Linked DNA regions of Homo sapiens: regions 1, 2 and 3 are each linked to region 4. The links are contacts of gene promoters, found by promoter capture Hi-C in human tissues and cell types (Jung and others, 2019). All regions are on one chromosome and are shown on one strand. Each heading gives the region's core, a stretch centred on a gene start or on the middle of the fragment in contact. The rest is flanking DNA. Distances are from core to core; before and after follow the strand shown. Region 1 overlaps STK17A (serine/threonine kinase 17a). Region 2 overlaps HECW1 (HECT, C2 and WW domain containing E3 ubiquitin protein ligase 1). Region 3 overlaps HECW1 (HECT, C2 and WW domain containing E3 ubiquitin protein ligase 1). Region 4 holds the start of MRPS24 (mitochondrial ribosomal protein S24).

Region 1 (3,136 bases), core at 450-2,949, 280 kb before region 4:
ATCCCAGCATTTTGGGAGGCCGAGGTGGGTGGATCACTTGAGGCCAGGAGTTCGAGACCAGCCTGGCAAACATGACGAAACCCCATCTGTACTAAAAAAAAAAAAAAAAAAAAATCAAAAAATTAGCTGGGCATGATGGTATGTGCTTGTAATTCCAGCTATTCAGGAGGCTGAGGCATGAGAATTGCTTGAACCCGAGAAGCGGAGGTTGCAGTGAGCCGAGATCGTGCCACTGCACTCCAGCCTGGGTGACAGAACGAGACTGTGTCTCAAAAACAACAACAAAAAAGAATTTAACAGGGCAATTAAAGCCTTGCACTTAATTTTTTAGAAAGCTTTTTAAAAAAATAGATTCAGGGGTACAAGTGCATTTGTGTCACATGGATATATTGGGTCATGGTGAAGTCTGGGCTTTTAGTGTGCTCATCACCTAAATAGCGTACATTGTACCCAATAGGTAGTATTTAATTCCTCACCCCCTTCCCACTCTCTTACTGTTTGGTCTGTTTTTCCACTCTATGCCTGTGTATCCATTTAGTTCCCACTTAAAAGTGAAAACAGGCAGTTTTTTACTTCCTGCTTGAGTCATCTCACTTAGGATAATGACATCCAGTTCCATCCATGTTACTGCACAAGACATCATTTTTATGGCTGTGTAGTAGTCCATGATACATATACACACCATATTTTTAGTCCAGTCATCCACTGATGGACACTTAGGTTGGTATCTTTGCTATTATGAATAGGGCTGTGATTAACATATGAGTGCAGGTGTCTTTTTCATACAATAATTTCTTTTCCTTTGGGCAGATACCCTGTAATGGGATAGCCAAGTCAAATGGTAGTTCTTTGAGAAATCTCTAAACTACTTTCCATAGTGGCTGAACTAATTTACATTTCCACCAGCAGTGTATAAGCGTTCCCTTTTCTTTGTATGTTCGCCAACATTTGTTGTTTTTTAACTTTTTACTAATAGCCATTCCAACTGCTGTAAAGCAGTACCTCATTGTGATTTTAATTTGCATTTCTCTGATGATTAGTGATGTTGAACATTTTTTAATGTGTTTGTTTGCTGCTCTTTTGAAAAAATGTCTGTTCATATAAAAAAAAAAAACAATGAGGTTGTTTTTTTTTCTCGTTTTTTGAGTTCCTTGTAGATTCTGGATATCATCCCTTTGTTGGAGGCATAGTTTGCAAATATTTTTTCCCATTCTGTAGGTTGTCTGTTTATGCTGTTGATTATTCCAAATTTTTTAGCAATCATTTTTAAAATATAGTATGAGGATACTGACTTGATAAAAATTCAAGGTGGAAAAAAATCTAGGTAGTTTATCAGCCCAATTTGAAATATGAAAACATGTCAAGTTTTTTAACAATCAATCTTAGGTTGTATTGTTCCAGGAGCAACAAAAATAATAATGATGTAATGCTTTGATCGATTATACCTGGATTAGTTGCTTCAGATTTGGTTGGCACATTTTCTGCTGAGCCATAATAGGGAGTCAACCTTATGGGGAGGTGGGCATGGTGGCATGTGCCTGTAATCCCAGCTATACAGGAGGCTGAGGTGGGAGGATCACTTGAGCCCGGAAGTCCAAGGCTGCATTGAGCTATGATGGTGCCACTGCACTCCAGCCTGGGCAACAGAGTGAGACCCTGTCTCTTAAAGGAAAAAAAAAAAACCCATGGGGATGGGGATTGATTGCAAATTGGGAAAGGGAAGAGGGAGTGGCAGCTAACAGATGGTGTTTGCTGTGTTCAGTATCTGATAGACTGCCATGTGGAAAAGAGAGTGAGGTCTGGTCTGTACTGCTCAGCAGAGGACCCTGACTGTAACCCTTCAACTGAAGTCAGGTTTAGGCTTGTAATGAAGACCTTATTAAGATAATATGTACCCAGTAGTGGAAAAGATTACCTCACAGTTTGAAATAAGACATTGGCATTTGGTGTTAGGTAAAATACTGTATGATTTCTAAGTTGTCTTTCAACCTAAGGATTCAGTGGATGTTTACGGGTGATGACTATCACAGCTTAATGATGTTTGTGTGATTAGTAATATTTATTGAGCACTTACTGTGTGGCAAGTACCATGCTAAGCAATTGAAATATATTATTCTTTAATTCTTAGAACCCTGTGAAGTAGATGCCATTTGTGTCCCTATTATACAGATTAGAAAAATGAGACTTAGGGCATGGAGGCTCATGCCTTTAATCCTAGCAGGATCACTTGAGGCCAGGAGTTCAATACTAGCCTGAGCAACATAGAGAGACCCAGTCTCTTAAAAAAAAAAAAAAAGAAAGAAAGAAAAGAAAAGAAAAATGAAACTAAAAGAGGTTAAATAAACCACCTAAGGTTACTGTCAAGTGCCACTTATAGGGTTCAAGCCCACATAGGTTTAATTCCAGAGCTCATACTTTTAATCAGTATGCTATACTGAGTCCCTGGTTTACCCACTTATTAGTGTAATGACAAATAGTAATGTATCAATATAACACTTTGTTGTATCTGTCTTTATGAGAAAATACATTTCTAGCTGACGCTCTAGTTAAAATGATAAATGAGTGAGATCCTTACCTTTAGAAAGTGATAGTGCTCTTTAGAGTCAATTAGTGCAGTGAAATTCATCATATTAGGGATTCTGGTGACCAATTTCTATTAAAAAATCAAATGGCTTTTTTTTTTTTTTTTTTTTCCCCCCTGGAGACAGAGTCTCACTCTGTCATCCAGTCTGGAGTGCAGTGGCATGATCTCAGCTCGCTGCAACCTCCACCTCCCAGGTTCAAGCGATTCCCATGCCTCAGCCTCCTGAGTAGCTGGGATTACAGGCATAGCACTACTACACCTGGCTAATTTTTGTATTTTTAGTAGAGACAGGGTTTCGCCATTTTGGCCAGGTTGGTCCAGAACTCCTGACCTCAAGTGAGCCACCTGCCTCAGCCTCCCAAAATGCTGAGATTACAAAGGTGCACCATGCCTGGCTTCAACTGGCTTTTTTAGAGACCTAAATCATTTTATGTATAAATGTGCAAAAAATTAAGTTATGTGTAACTCTGCAAAAAAATGGACTTTAATATTTGTTATTCTTTAGAAAATGAATTGTGCAGGTTTATACATTTTGTTTTATTTGATAAATCT
Region 2 (2,923 bases), core at 10-2,509, 370 kb before region 4:
TGCTGTGTTCCTCAGCTTCTGTACCTGTGCAAGTCTGTAGAAAAGCCATCCCTCATAGAGCATCCTGAGAGCCTGTGATACAAACTTAGAATTCTGCAAAATACATAGGACGTTAGGACATTGCTATTCAGCAGTATTGGAAGAGGAAATAAGAGATCAGAAGAAAATGTATTTCTGAGTTTATGTGTTGGCATCTAATTTTCCTCTTCTTTCTCACATGATTCAGGGAGAAAATCCATTACATTCGGACTGAGGGTAATCACGGGCTTGAGAAGTTGTCCTGTGATGCGGATCTGGTCATTTTGCTGAGGTAGGGGGCTAGGCCTGAAATCCTTCTGGAAAAGCTTCCCTGGGCAGCTCTCCTCCATCACGGCCACCCTGAAAATGGCCTAGACTGAAAAACTCACCGCTTGTTCTAGAGGATTCTAGTAACTGCAACGCAAGTGGGACCCCACCCTTGTACCTGTGTCCATCACAGTCCTTAGATTTGCAATTGAGCTAGCAAGAGCTGCGTAAAGTACTTGATGGAGACTTTGTTGTAGGATTAATCAAGGTTTAAAACAACACTGAGAATTTGCAAGCAGCATGTACCTATCTTTCTGTACTACATTTAAATCTAATTGCTTTTGTTGCTTTGTGAGAAGTGTAAGTGCTGCTACCCCAATTCGTGAACACTTTCTCAGGGATGTAAAACTGACTTTCTTTTCTTTCTTTTTTTTTTTTTTTTTTTTCATATGCAGTCTCTTTGAAGAAGAGATTATGTCCTACGTCCCCCTGCAGGCTGCCTTCCACCCTGGGTATAGCTTCTCTCCCCGATGTTCACCCTGTTCTTCACCTCAGAACTCCCCAGGTAACAGGAATCTGGCCTAATAGCTCCTGTTAAGTGGCCACGTGTGTTTCCTCCAGTGAAGGTGAATGAAAGGCAACTGTATGTGTGTGTTCTTTCTCTCGGCCTTCCCAATTCCCTAATTGAAAATGCACTCTATCAGGTTTTGACAAATGGCTGCCTGTTTTTTGTAATGCCCCCCAAGCTAGAATGGGGTTTACAGTTTGAAATGGTTGGGAAAAAAATGTTTTGCTGGGCAGGTGGCTCATGCTTATAATCCCAGGGCTTTGGGAGGCCAAGCCAGAAGGATCACTTGAGTCCAGGAGTTCAAGACCAGCCTGGGCAACATAGCGAGCTCCCCTTCTCTACAAAAAAATTAAAACTAAGCCAAGTGAGGTAGCATGTGCCTGTAGTCCCAGCTACTAGGGAGGCTGAAGCAGGAGGGTTCCTTGAGCCCAGCAGGTTGAGGCTGCAGTGAGCTATGATTTCACCACTGCCCTCCTGCCCATACAACAAAGAGAGTCCCTATCTAAAAAAAAATAAAAAAGAAAGAAAGAAAGAAAAGAAAAAAATTAAGACAGTATTTTATGACATGTGAAAACTGTATGAAATTTAAATTGCAGTGTCCATAAATAAAGTGTAATTGGACCTCAGCCATGCCTGTTCTATGCTAGCTTTCACACCAGACTTGAGTAATAGCAACAGAAACCACATGGTCTGCAAAGCCTCAAATATTTACTCTCTGGTCCTTTGCAGAAAAAGGTTACTGTCCCTGCTCTAAATTGTTGCATTCCAAAGTCACTCTCCGAGCATTTCAAACGGAAGAGCCCTTTCTGAAACATTCTGCCTTGTGACTCTGAATCGATTGCACACCACTTTTGGTGATACAGCTACTAGGAACCATTGTTATATCTCCACAAAGATTCCAAAGAATTTCCTTACACATTTCAAAATTATTCCTCCTGTTTTCTTTATGTATGAGAATGAACTTGTGGTACAAAAATTCTTTGCAGGTATTTTCCATTCCAAGTGAGAGAATACATATGTTGAACTGTTTAGTGAATAAAAGATATTTTCGCCAGACACAATGGCTAACCCGCGTAATCCCAGCACTTTGGGAAGCTGAGGTGGGCGGATCACTTGAGCCCAAGAGTTCGAGACCAGCCTGGGCCATATAGTGAGACCTCATCTCTACCAAAAAAAATTTTTTTTAATTAGCCAGGTGTGGTGGTGCACGCCTTTAGTATCAGCTATTCAGGAGGCTAAGGCGGGATCTCTTGAACCCAGGAGACAGAGGTTGCAGTGAACCGAGATTGTGCCACTGCACTCCAAGCACTAGGCAACAGAGCAAGACCCTGTCTCAAAAAACAAACAAACGAAAAAAAAGATATTTTCTGGATTCATCAAGATAAAGAGCTTAGGTCAAATCCATACCTCCAGACTGGATCCAGATATTGGAGAATTTTTCCATTCGTATTTGACTTGCATTATCACATTGTTGTAGGTTTCATTTAAAGTAAAAGAGATCAGTTTGAAACATGTAGGAACATCCTATCTCAGAAGCTCTAGGGCCAGGGTTGGAGCATGGTTTTTGAAGCCAGTGGTAAAATTCCCAAGAGAAACAGAACTTGGTAATAAGCTTTGTCTCTGAGAAGGGATGTCGCACTCAGAGTTAGTATCATTCAGTACTGCCGTAGGTCTCCAGACTAGAGTATCTTTTAGTCTGGTTCCTCCAAGTTGTAGCATTCAGAAGTCCCTCTTAGAGGTAGTTGTGCTCGTCGTTAAAATATGTTTTCAAGATAGTATCTCCCTGTTGTCACTTCCTCCAAACAAGTGTACCAACAGCATTGTTAAGGAAATGTGCAATGCTTGCTACCTCTGACGCACAACATAATTAAATCCCATTGCCTAAAAAGACCAGGAGCTTTGCTGGAGCCGACATCAATACAGTCACACACTTTTAGCACTCATAGGATGACCTACTTTTGGGGAGCGAAGACAAAAGTAAGGGGTTTGGGGGGAAAAGTTTGGAGAAGCTGTAGGACTGCATGATGGTCTGCCATGTTGTAGAGATTGTCCCAGCCTGATAATGTGCCT
Region 3 (3,239 bases), core at 64-2,563, 320 kb before region 4:
AAACCGTCCTTTGCTGGCATTAAATTTTCCAACTTTAGATCCTTCACCTTCCTTTTGCTTTGAGTTATCATATAATGACTTTGCTTTATCTAGAATCATATTAGAGTCTACAGGTATGTATGCCATTGTTCTAGCAATACTGCACTCACATAAAAGCTGTGTTTTCAGCCAGGCATGGTGGCTCATGCCTGTAATCCCAGCACTTTGGGAGGCCAAGGTGGGCAGATCGCAAAGTCAAGAGATCGAGACCATCCTGGCCAACATAGTGAAACCCCATCTCTACTAAAAATACAAAAATTAACCAGGTGTGGTGGCACGTGCCTGTAATCTCAGCTACTCGGGAGGCTGAGGCAGGAGAGTCGCTTGAACCCAGGAGGCAGAGATTGCAGCAAGCCAGGATTGCGCCACTGCACTCCAGCCTGGCGACAGAGTGAGACTCTGGCTCAAAGAAAAAAAAAAAAGCTGTGTTTTCAATATGAGATAAAAAGATATTCCACAAAAAGTGCCAGGTTTTCACACCTGCTGGCATAGCTGCAGTGATGGCTTCATGAATTTCGTTTTCCTTTTTTACAATGGTCCCTATGCTGGATTCATTTATTTTGAAAAGATGGGCAACCACATCTGCAGACCTCAATCTATGGTGCCTATCAAGTAATTCAATTTTCCCTTGTAATATCATGATTTTTCTCTGCTTCTTGGGAGTATTTCCAGCATCATTAGTGGCCCTTCGTGTGGGTCCCACAATGTTATTCAAAGTTTACAATATTGCACTTAAACACAGTGGAAAATATTCAGTAAACAAGAAAGATCACTTTTTACTGTGATACACAGTTTACTGGAGAGAGGCTATTCATCAGCAACACTTGCGTTCATCGCAAAAAACAGCAGGAGGTGACTACAAAATTATTACAATAGTACAGTATGTACTACAGTTAATTTTATGCAGTTATGATTTAATACCGCATTTTGATGTTTGTATTTGTCTCAACTGCCAGTGGCACCATGTACAGGCTCTAAGTGTTTGTGTGTGTACATTTTCATAAATTTTAACTTTTTAATAATAGATTTGTGTACATTTTATGTTAGTAAATGATAAAATAGACTAGTATCTACATATATTTTATGGACTCATTACATTTCTAACTTTTTTTTTCATTTTAAAAAAGCTTCTATTAATTTTCTAGGTATGCAGGTCATCTGCGAGTTTTTTCAAATTGTTGTAAGTCTCCAAAAAAATTCCCAATATATTTATTGAAAAAAATCCATGTACGAGTGGACCCATGCAGTCCAAACCCACGCTGCTCAAGGGTCAGCCTGTATACCTGTTTAAAGTTTATCTCATTTCTCTTCAAAAGGGGGTCACCAAGAACAATGAGTGGTTTTAGAAGATTGAATTGCAGCCCTTCTTTTGTCAAGTTGTTAGACAGTGGAGAGCAGAGGGATGCAGGTGAAAGACACCGTAGGCTTTAGGATTAGATTCAGCTACTAGTGAAGAAGCCAAAAATGACCCTGTTGAAATTAATAGAAGCTTTTTTTTTCTCATATAAAAGCCCTGTTGAGGCTGAGTGTGGTGGTCCACGCCTATAATCCTAGCACTTCAGGAGGCCAAGGCGGGTGGATCGCTTGAGGCCAGGAGCTCAAGACCAGCCTGGCCAACATGGCGAAACCCTGTCTGTACTAAAAATAAAAAAAAATTAGTCAGGTGTGGTGGCATGCACCTATAGTCCCAGTTACTTGGGAGGCTGAGGTGGGAGAATCGCTTGAGCTTGGGAGAGAGAGGTTGCAGAGAGCTGAGATTGTACCACTGCACTCCAGCCTGGGTGACAGAGTGAGACCCTGTCTCAAAACAAAAACAAAAAAAGCTCTGTTTGATAAAATCCTCAGGGATCAAGCTCCTTCCAGGTCTCCCCACTGCTATCGCTAGGGTAGGCCCCCTGCACTCTTAGCCCAGATGCGTACAGCATCCCAACCATCACAACTGTGTTCAGTGCAGCCGGACAAAGGAACACACAGCCCATCCCTTCAAGGAGGCCTCCTGACAGTGCCATACACTTCTGCTTACATCCCATTGGACAGAATTTACTTACATGCCACACCTAGCTGTGAGAGAGGTTGGAAAATAAAGTCTTTAACTGGGCCGCTAAAAATCAGACATTCCAAAGAATATGGATGCTGGGTGGTAACAAGTATTTTATCATTAGCCAATATTTTATAATTGGCACTAATCACCTAAGTGATAAAAGAAAAAGTCACCATCAGACTACTTATGGACTGCTTTGTTTAGGTACCTGTGTCCACAAGTGCCAAACATATATGTATTTTTTTCTTTAAACCAGTAACTAAGTCCAGTGATGCCTCATTTGTCTTGCAGCATTGAGCATTGCAGTGAGCCCTTAAGTGAATTTAAGATGACTGAAGATTACCCCCTTCATACATGAACATATTTTGATTTTTTAAAAAATGTCTAGCATGTTATCTACCTCCTTGCCTGTGAAAAGATGATACACAGATAATAGCCTTCCCTGATGACTCAAGCATGTCCTAACAAACAGGCATCATCACACAAGTGGCAGCGCCATTTGCTGTGTGTGCCTACATGCTTCTGGTTCCCTTCCCAGGGTCAGGCTGCCCTGGCTGTGTAATATTATACCCCACCCTCTGCCAGAAGACCACTGTCTTCTGGCCAGCTGTGGGAGTGGAAGCTGATGGCTGTTAAGAATTTGCTGTCATTGAGATTTGGGGGCATCAAGTATGTGATTGTAGTGTTGAGACATTCAGCTTCACCATTAGGGACAACCTAGGACATTTTCCTTTTATTTCCATTATGCCTCTTGAGTATAGGAAACTTGTTTCCTCTGTATAAAACAAAAACTGTAGCCTTTCCAAGGTGCTTAGCAATCTGCTTAGAGGTCGGGTGCAGTGGCTCCCAATACTTTGGAGTTGGGAGGATCAGTTAAGGCCAGGAGTTCAAGACTAGCCTGGGCAACATAGACCACATTCTACCAAAAAAAAAGAAGAAGAAGAAGAAAGAAAAAAAATTAACCAGGCGGAGTGGGGCTTGTCTGTGGTCCCAGCTACTCAGGAGGCTGAGGCAGGAGGGTCATTTGCCCCCAGGAATGCAGGGCTGCAATAAGCTATGATTGCACCACTGTGCTCCAATCTGCTTAGAACAGCCAGAGCTCTTTTAGTGACCTTTAGCAAGGAAAAAAGACTCCAGGGATAATAATGCTGAATAATGC
Region 4 (3,291 bases), core at 677-3,176:
GTGATCTCGGCTCACTGCAACCTCCGCCTCTTGGGTTCAAACAATTCTCTGCCTCAGCCTCCTGAATAGCTGGGATTGCAGGCGCCCGCCACTACGCCCAGCTAATTTTTTTGTATTTTTAGTAGAGATGGGGTTTCACCATCTTGGCCAGGTTGGTATTGAACTCCTGACCTCAGGATCCACCCTCCTCGGCCTCCCAAAGTGCTGGGATTACAGGCGTGAGCCACCGTGCCAGGCAAGCATCTGTATTTTAAGTAAGTTCTCTAGATGCATCTCAAACATCCAAGAACCCCTGTACTAAACAAAGCACAGTTGGTTATCAATTGTTCACAATAGTTATATTCTATAAAGTCACTGCCAACACTGACTTAGTGAATACTGAACCATTGCTCCTAGGTGAAATACAGGGTTAGATTCCTTTCAGCCTCTGGGCACCGTATTTTTGTTAACAAATCAATACATAACCTAGTTTCCTTTGTGTTTCTGTTTAAAGACACCTTGTTTAATATATATGGTAGATTCACTAACATTGAATTCAGGGCCAAGAGCAACTCATGACTGAAGAAAGATTCTCTAATACATGTATGTTCTCCCTAAGGCACGTCACAGCCTTCTCCCGCTTAGGAACACTAGATAGCACTTCAGCATTGCAAGGCCATTTTAAACAGCAAAATCACTAACAAAAAGCACGAAAATGCAAATTAAAAAAAAAAGATTCTAGACCATAAAAAGGACACCTTTTACAGTACGAGAGCTGAAACTAGGCAGAGCCTTGTCGACCTCAGCTCGGGACATGCACCTGGGGTGGCAGCTCCACCCACATCTCAGAGTGACCTTGAGAGTGCCCAGAGTGTTGATTTGGGGCTTACAAATAAATTTTAGTCAGTAGAAGAATCTGAAAATATGGAATTCATGAATAACGAGGGTTGTCTGTATATATTTACAGAGAAAAATTTGTGCTTTAGTGGAAAACTGCATTCCTTAGAGCACACTGTTCAGGGTTATCAGATTCTGCAACGGTTTCACTCCTTTCCTTGACTCTGAGCTATTTTACAGCTCTGTAAATTACAGATAACTGACAGGAATGCAAAATAATTCTTGTCTGTAGACATGCAAATAATTTCTGTTCAGTGGAGGATCAATTGAGTCCCTGCCTGCCATGGAAAAAGTCAGTTTTGCATCCATCTTCAAATTTGTTTCAACATCCTGATCTATATATATCTCTGCTTTTTTATGTCTCCCTTGAGTTGGTTTCATAGATTTCTGACCCTAGCATTATTTCCTGAGTTAAAGAAAACCTGTGACACGTGTTCATTTTGTTTACATGACAGTCGGATTGAGTGCTCCTTTTGGAGGCCTGGGGTCCGCTCACCTGTGTGCAGCGACAGCCAGCCTTTACGGTGGGCGATGTAGTGCGGCGCGTGTGCCTCCTCGTAGGTCACCGGCTTGTCCCCCTTGCTTACGCGTACTCGGGCCGCCCGGTTCTAGGAGCAAAAGGGGCCGTGACTCCACGAGATCCCCGATCCAGACCCCTACTTCGCGCCATGTCCCCCCAGTCAGCTGGCACTGTTCCCCGGCCCCAATCCCCTGATCCCTAAGCCCCGACCCTAGCCCCGCCTCGGACCCCAGCGACACGCCCCCTTCAGCCCGCACGGCTTCCCCGGCCCCCGGCCCCCCGGCCCCCAGGCCCCCAGGCCCCTGCCCCGGCGGTGCTCACCTTGGCGCAGACCGGGGAGGTGTGCAGGGCGCGCCAAGCGCAAGGCAGCTCTCGGCTCCAGGACAGCACCTGTGGAGGGAGGGCGCGTGAGGCGGAAACTAGGGACCCCACCTCCGACTCGCAGGGACCTGCCGAGTCGCCCCACTCACCCGTGGCCCCAGCAACCCGCTGCACACGGAGGCCGCCATCTTGGGCCAAGCGGAGCGCGGGACGTACCACAGCGCGCTGAGGGGTGGGGACGACCGCGGACGAGACCAAGTCGGAGCTCGTACTCTGTACTCTGGCGGGGGCGGGGCAGGGCCTCTGCGGGGCGGGGCCGCGGTATGCTGCTAGCTGTTACTCCCGCCTTCCCCGCAGCCCTGTGAATGCTCAGCCTTGTGAATGCTCATCCCGCCGCTGTTCGCTCTCCCGCGGTTGCTGCTTGCATAGGGTTTCAGATCCGGAAATTTGAGGATGCGAAACGTGAGATTTTCTCTTCGACAACCTCACGCTAGTACGGGTGATGGGTGTGCGGCCCACCGGAGCCCGCCCTGCCCAACCTGCACCCTCGGGGCTCGAAGAGGAGCCAAGCGTTTCCCCAGGTCCTAGTTATGCCTCCAAATAATATTCGTAGAAAAACAAAACAGAAAAACCCTCCAGACTTTTATCCACAAATAAAGAAGAAACATATTTTGGTTAAAACGTCACCCAATTCTTCAAGGATGACTTACGCAGTTATGCAAGAATGGGTTTGCCACATGTGACCACAGTGGTGACTGGCCCCTGAGGAAGGAAAATTTTAAGTACGGGGAAGGGGCCGGAGGGCAAGGAGATTCGTGAGAATATCGCAGGGCCTGTAATGCTGAAACCAGTGCGTCGCCACTATTATTGGTATCCAGTAATTATTAATGTCAAACGGAAAAATAGCAACGCGGGATATTTTATTTTAGAAGTCACCACGGTCATGGAAAAAACACGGGCTCTGGAGTCAGACCCATGTATAACAATCTTTGTACAGTTAAGACTCAGTTCTATTATCTATAAAATGGGCCTTAATAATAGTACTACCTTATAGAGCTATTAGGATCAAGAGAATATTTAATCAATGATGGGTTGTGTTTGGTTGAGTGATGTGAAATTGCCAATGTTTTGGCCGTTCTGGGTCTACATCATTCCCCTTAATGGTACAGTACTTGCATACTGCTGCGGTTTCCTGTCAGGGGGAGGACTGGATTATGATCCATGGGAAGGGGAAATGGAAGAACGGTGGAAATGAGTTGCCCATGACCACACTGAGAAGAGGGAAAGAGGGACCAAGACACAAGTCTCTTGACTTCAGTCCAGCCCATTTCCCATGACCAAGATTCCTCTGATTACATGAAGGTGGGTTCTCAAAAAACCCGTAATAAAAGGACAAGGTCTTCCATGTCCACTTCACCAGAAATGTTTTATTCTTACTTTTTAGGAACTGCGGCCCCCAACTGTTATGCATATTGAATAAAGGGACAGAACAGGGATGAGGTGCCCTCCAATGCATACTTTGCAAATGTAAGAACTTTCAACATTTCCTAAGAAATCCTTTTCAACTGACAATT

Evidence for each region. The method cuts DNA at HindIII sites, captures the fragments that hold promoters and counts their contacts. A contact is called where the count stands out against the background at its distance.
Region 1: a fragment that was not itself captured here is called in contact with the fragment with the promoter of MRPS24 in region 4 in 1 of the 25 tissues and cell types used here (dorsolateral prefrontal cortex).
Region 2: a fragment that was not itself captured here is called in contact with the fragment with the promoter of MRPS24 in region 4 in 2 of the 25 tissues and cell types used here (IMR-90 fibroblasts and liver).
Region 3: a fragment that was not itself captured here is called in contact with the fragment with the promoter of MRPS24 in region 4 in 1 of the 25 tissues and cell types used here (H1 embryonic stem cells).

What each region holds. Positions count from the first base shown.
Region 1 is chr7:43,592,595-43,595,730 of GRCh38, forward strand. All of the region lies in intron 1 of STK17A (serine/threonine kinase 17a), which reads left to right. Among named protein-coding and RNA genes, the nearest start is that of STK17A, 11 kb to the left of the region's middle. The HindIII fragment of the contact is 8,630 bases long and covers 1-3,136 here.
Region 2 is chr7:43,500,473-43,503,395 of GRCh38, forward strand. It overlaps HECW1 (HECT, C2 and WW domain containing E3 ubiquitin protein ligase 1), which reads left to right. Exons shown (of 30, transcript NM_015052.5): 20 at 227-310; 21 at 741-850. Among named protein-coding and RNA genes, the nearest start is that of LUARIS, 21 kb to the right of the region's middle. The HindIII fragment of the contact is 5,387 bases long and covers 1-2,923 here.
Region 3 is chr7:43,547,101-43,550,339 of GRCh38, forward strand. The region is part of intron 26 of HECW1 (HECT, C2 and WW domain containing E3 ubiquitin protein ligase 1); the gene reads left to right. Among named protein-coding and RNA genes, the nearest start is that of LUARIS, 26 kb to the left of the region's middle. The HindIII fragment of the contact is 4,626 bases long and covers 1-3,239 here.
Region 4 is chr7:43,867,591-43,870,881 of GRCh38, forward strand. It overlaps MRPS24 (mitochondrial ribosomal protein S24), which reads right to left and starts at 1,927. Exons shown (of 4, transcript NM_032014.3): 1 at 1,867-1,927; 2 at 1,718-1,786; 3 at 1,373-1,484. The coding sequence starts at 1,905. It overlaps URGCP-MRPS24 (URGCP-MRPS24 readthrough), which reads right to left. Exons shown (of 7, transcript NM_001204871.2): 5 at 1,718-1,786; 6 at 1,373-1,484. The coding sequence ends at 1,396. It overlaps LOC124901620 (a long non-coding RNA gene), which reads left to right and starts at 2,056. Exons shown (of 2, transcript XR_007060296.1): 1 at 2,056-3,244. RefSeq lists silencers at 1,639-1,698, 1,999-2,058 and an enhancer at 2,289-2,408. The HindIII fragment of the contact is 19,139 bases long and covers 1-3,291 here.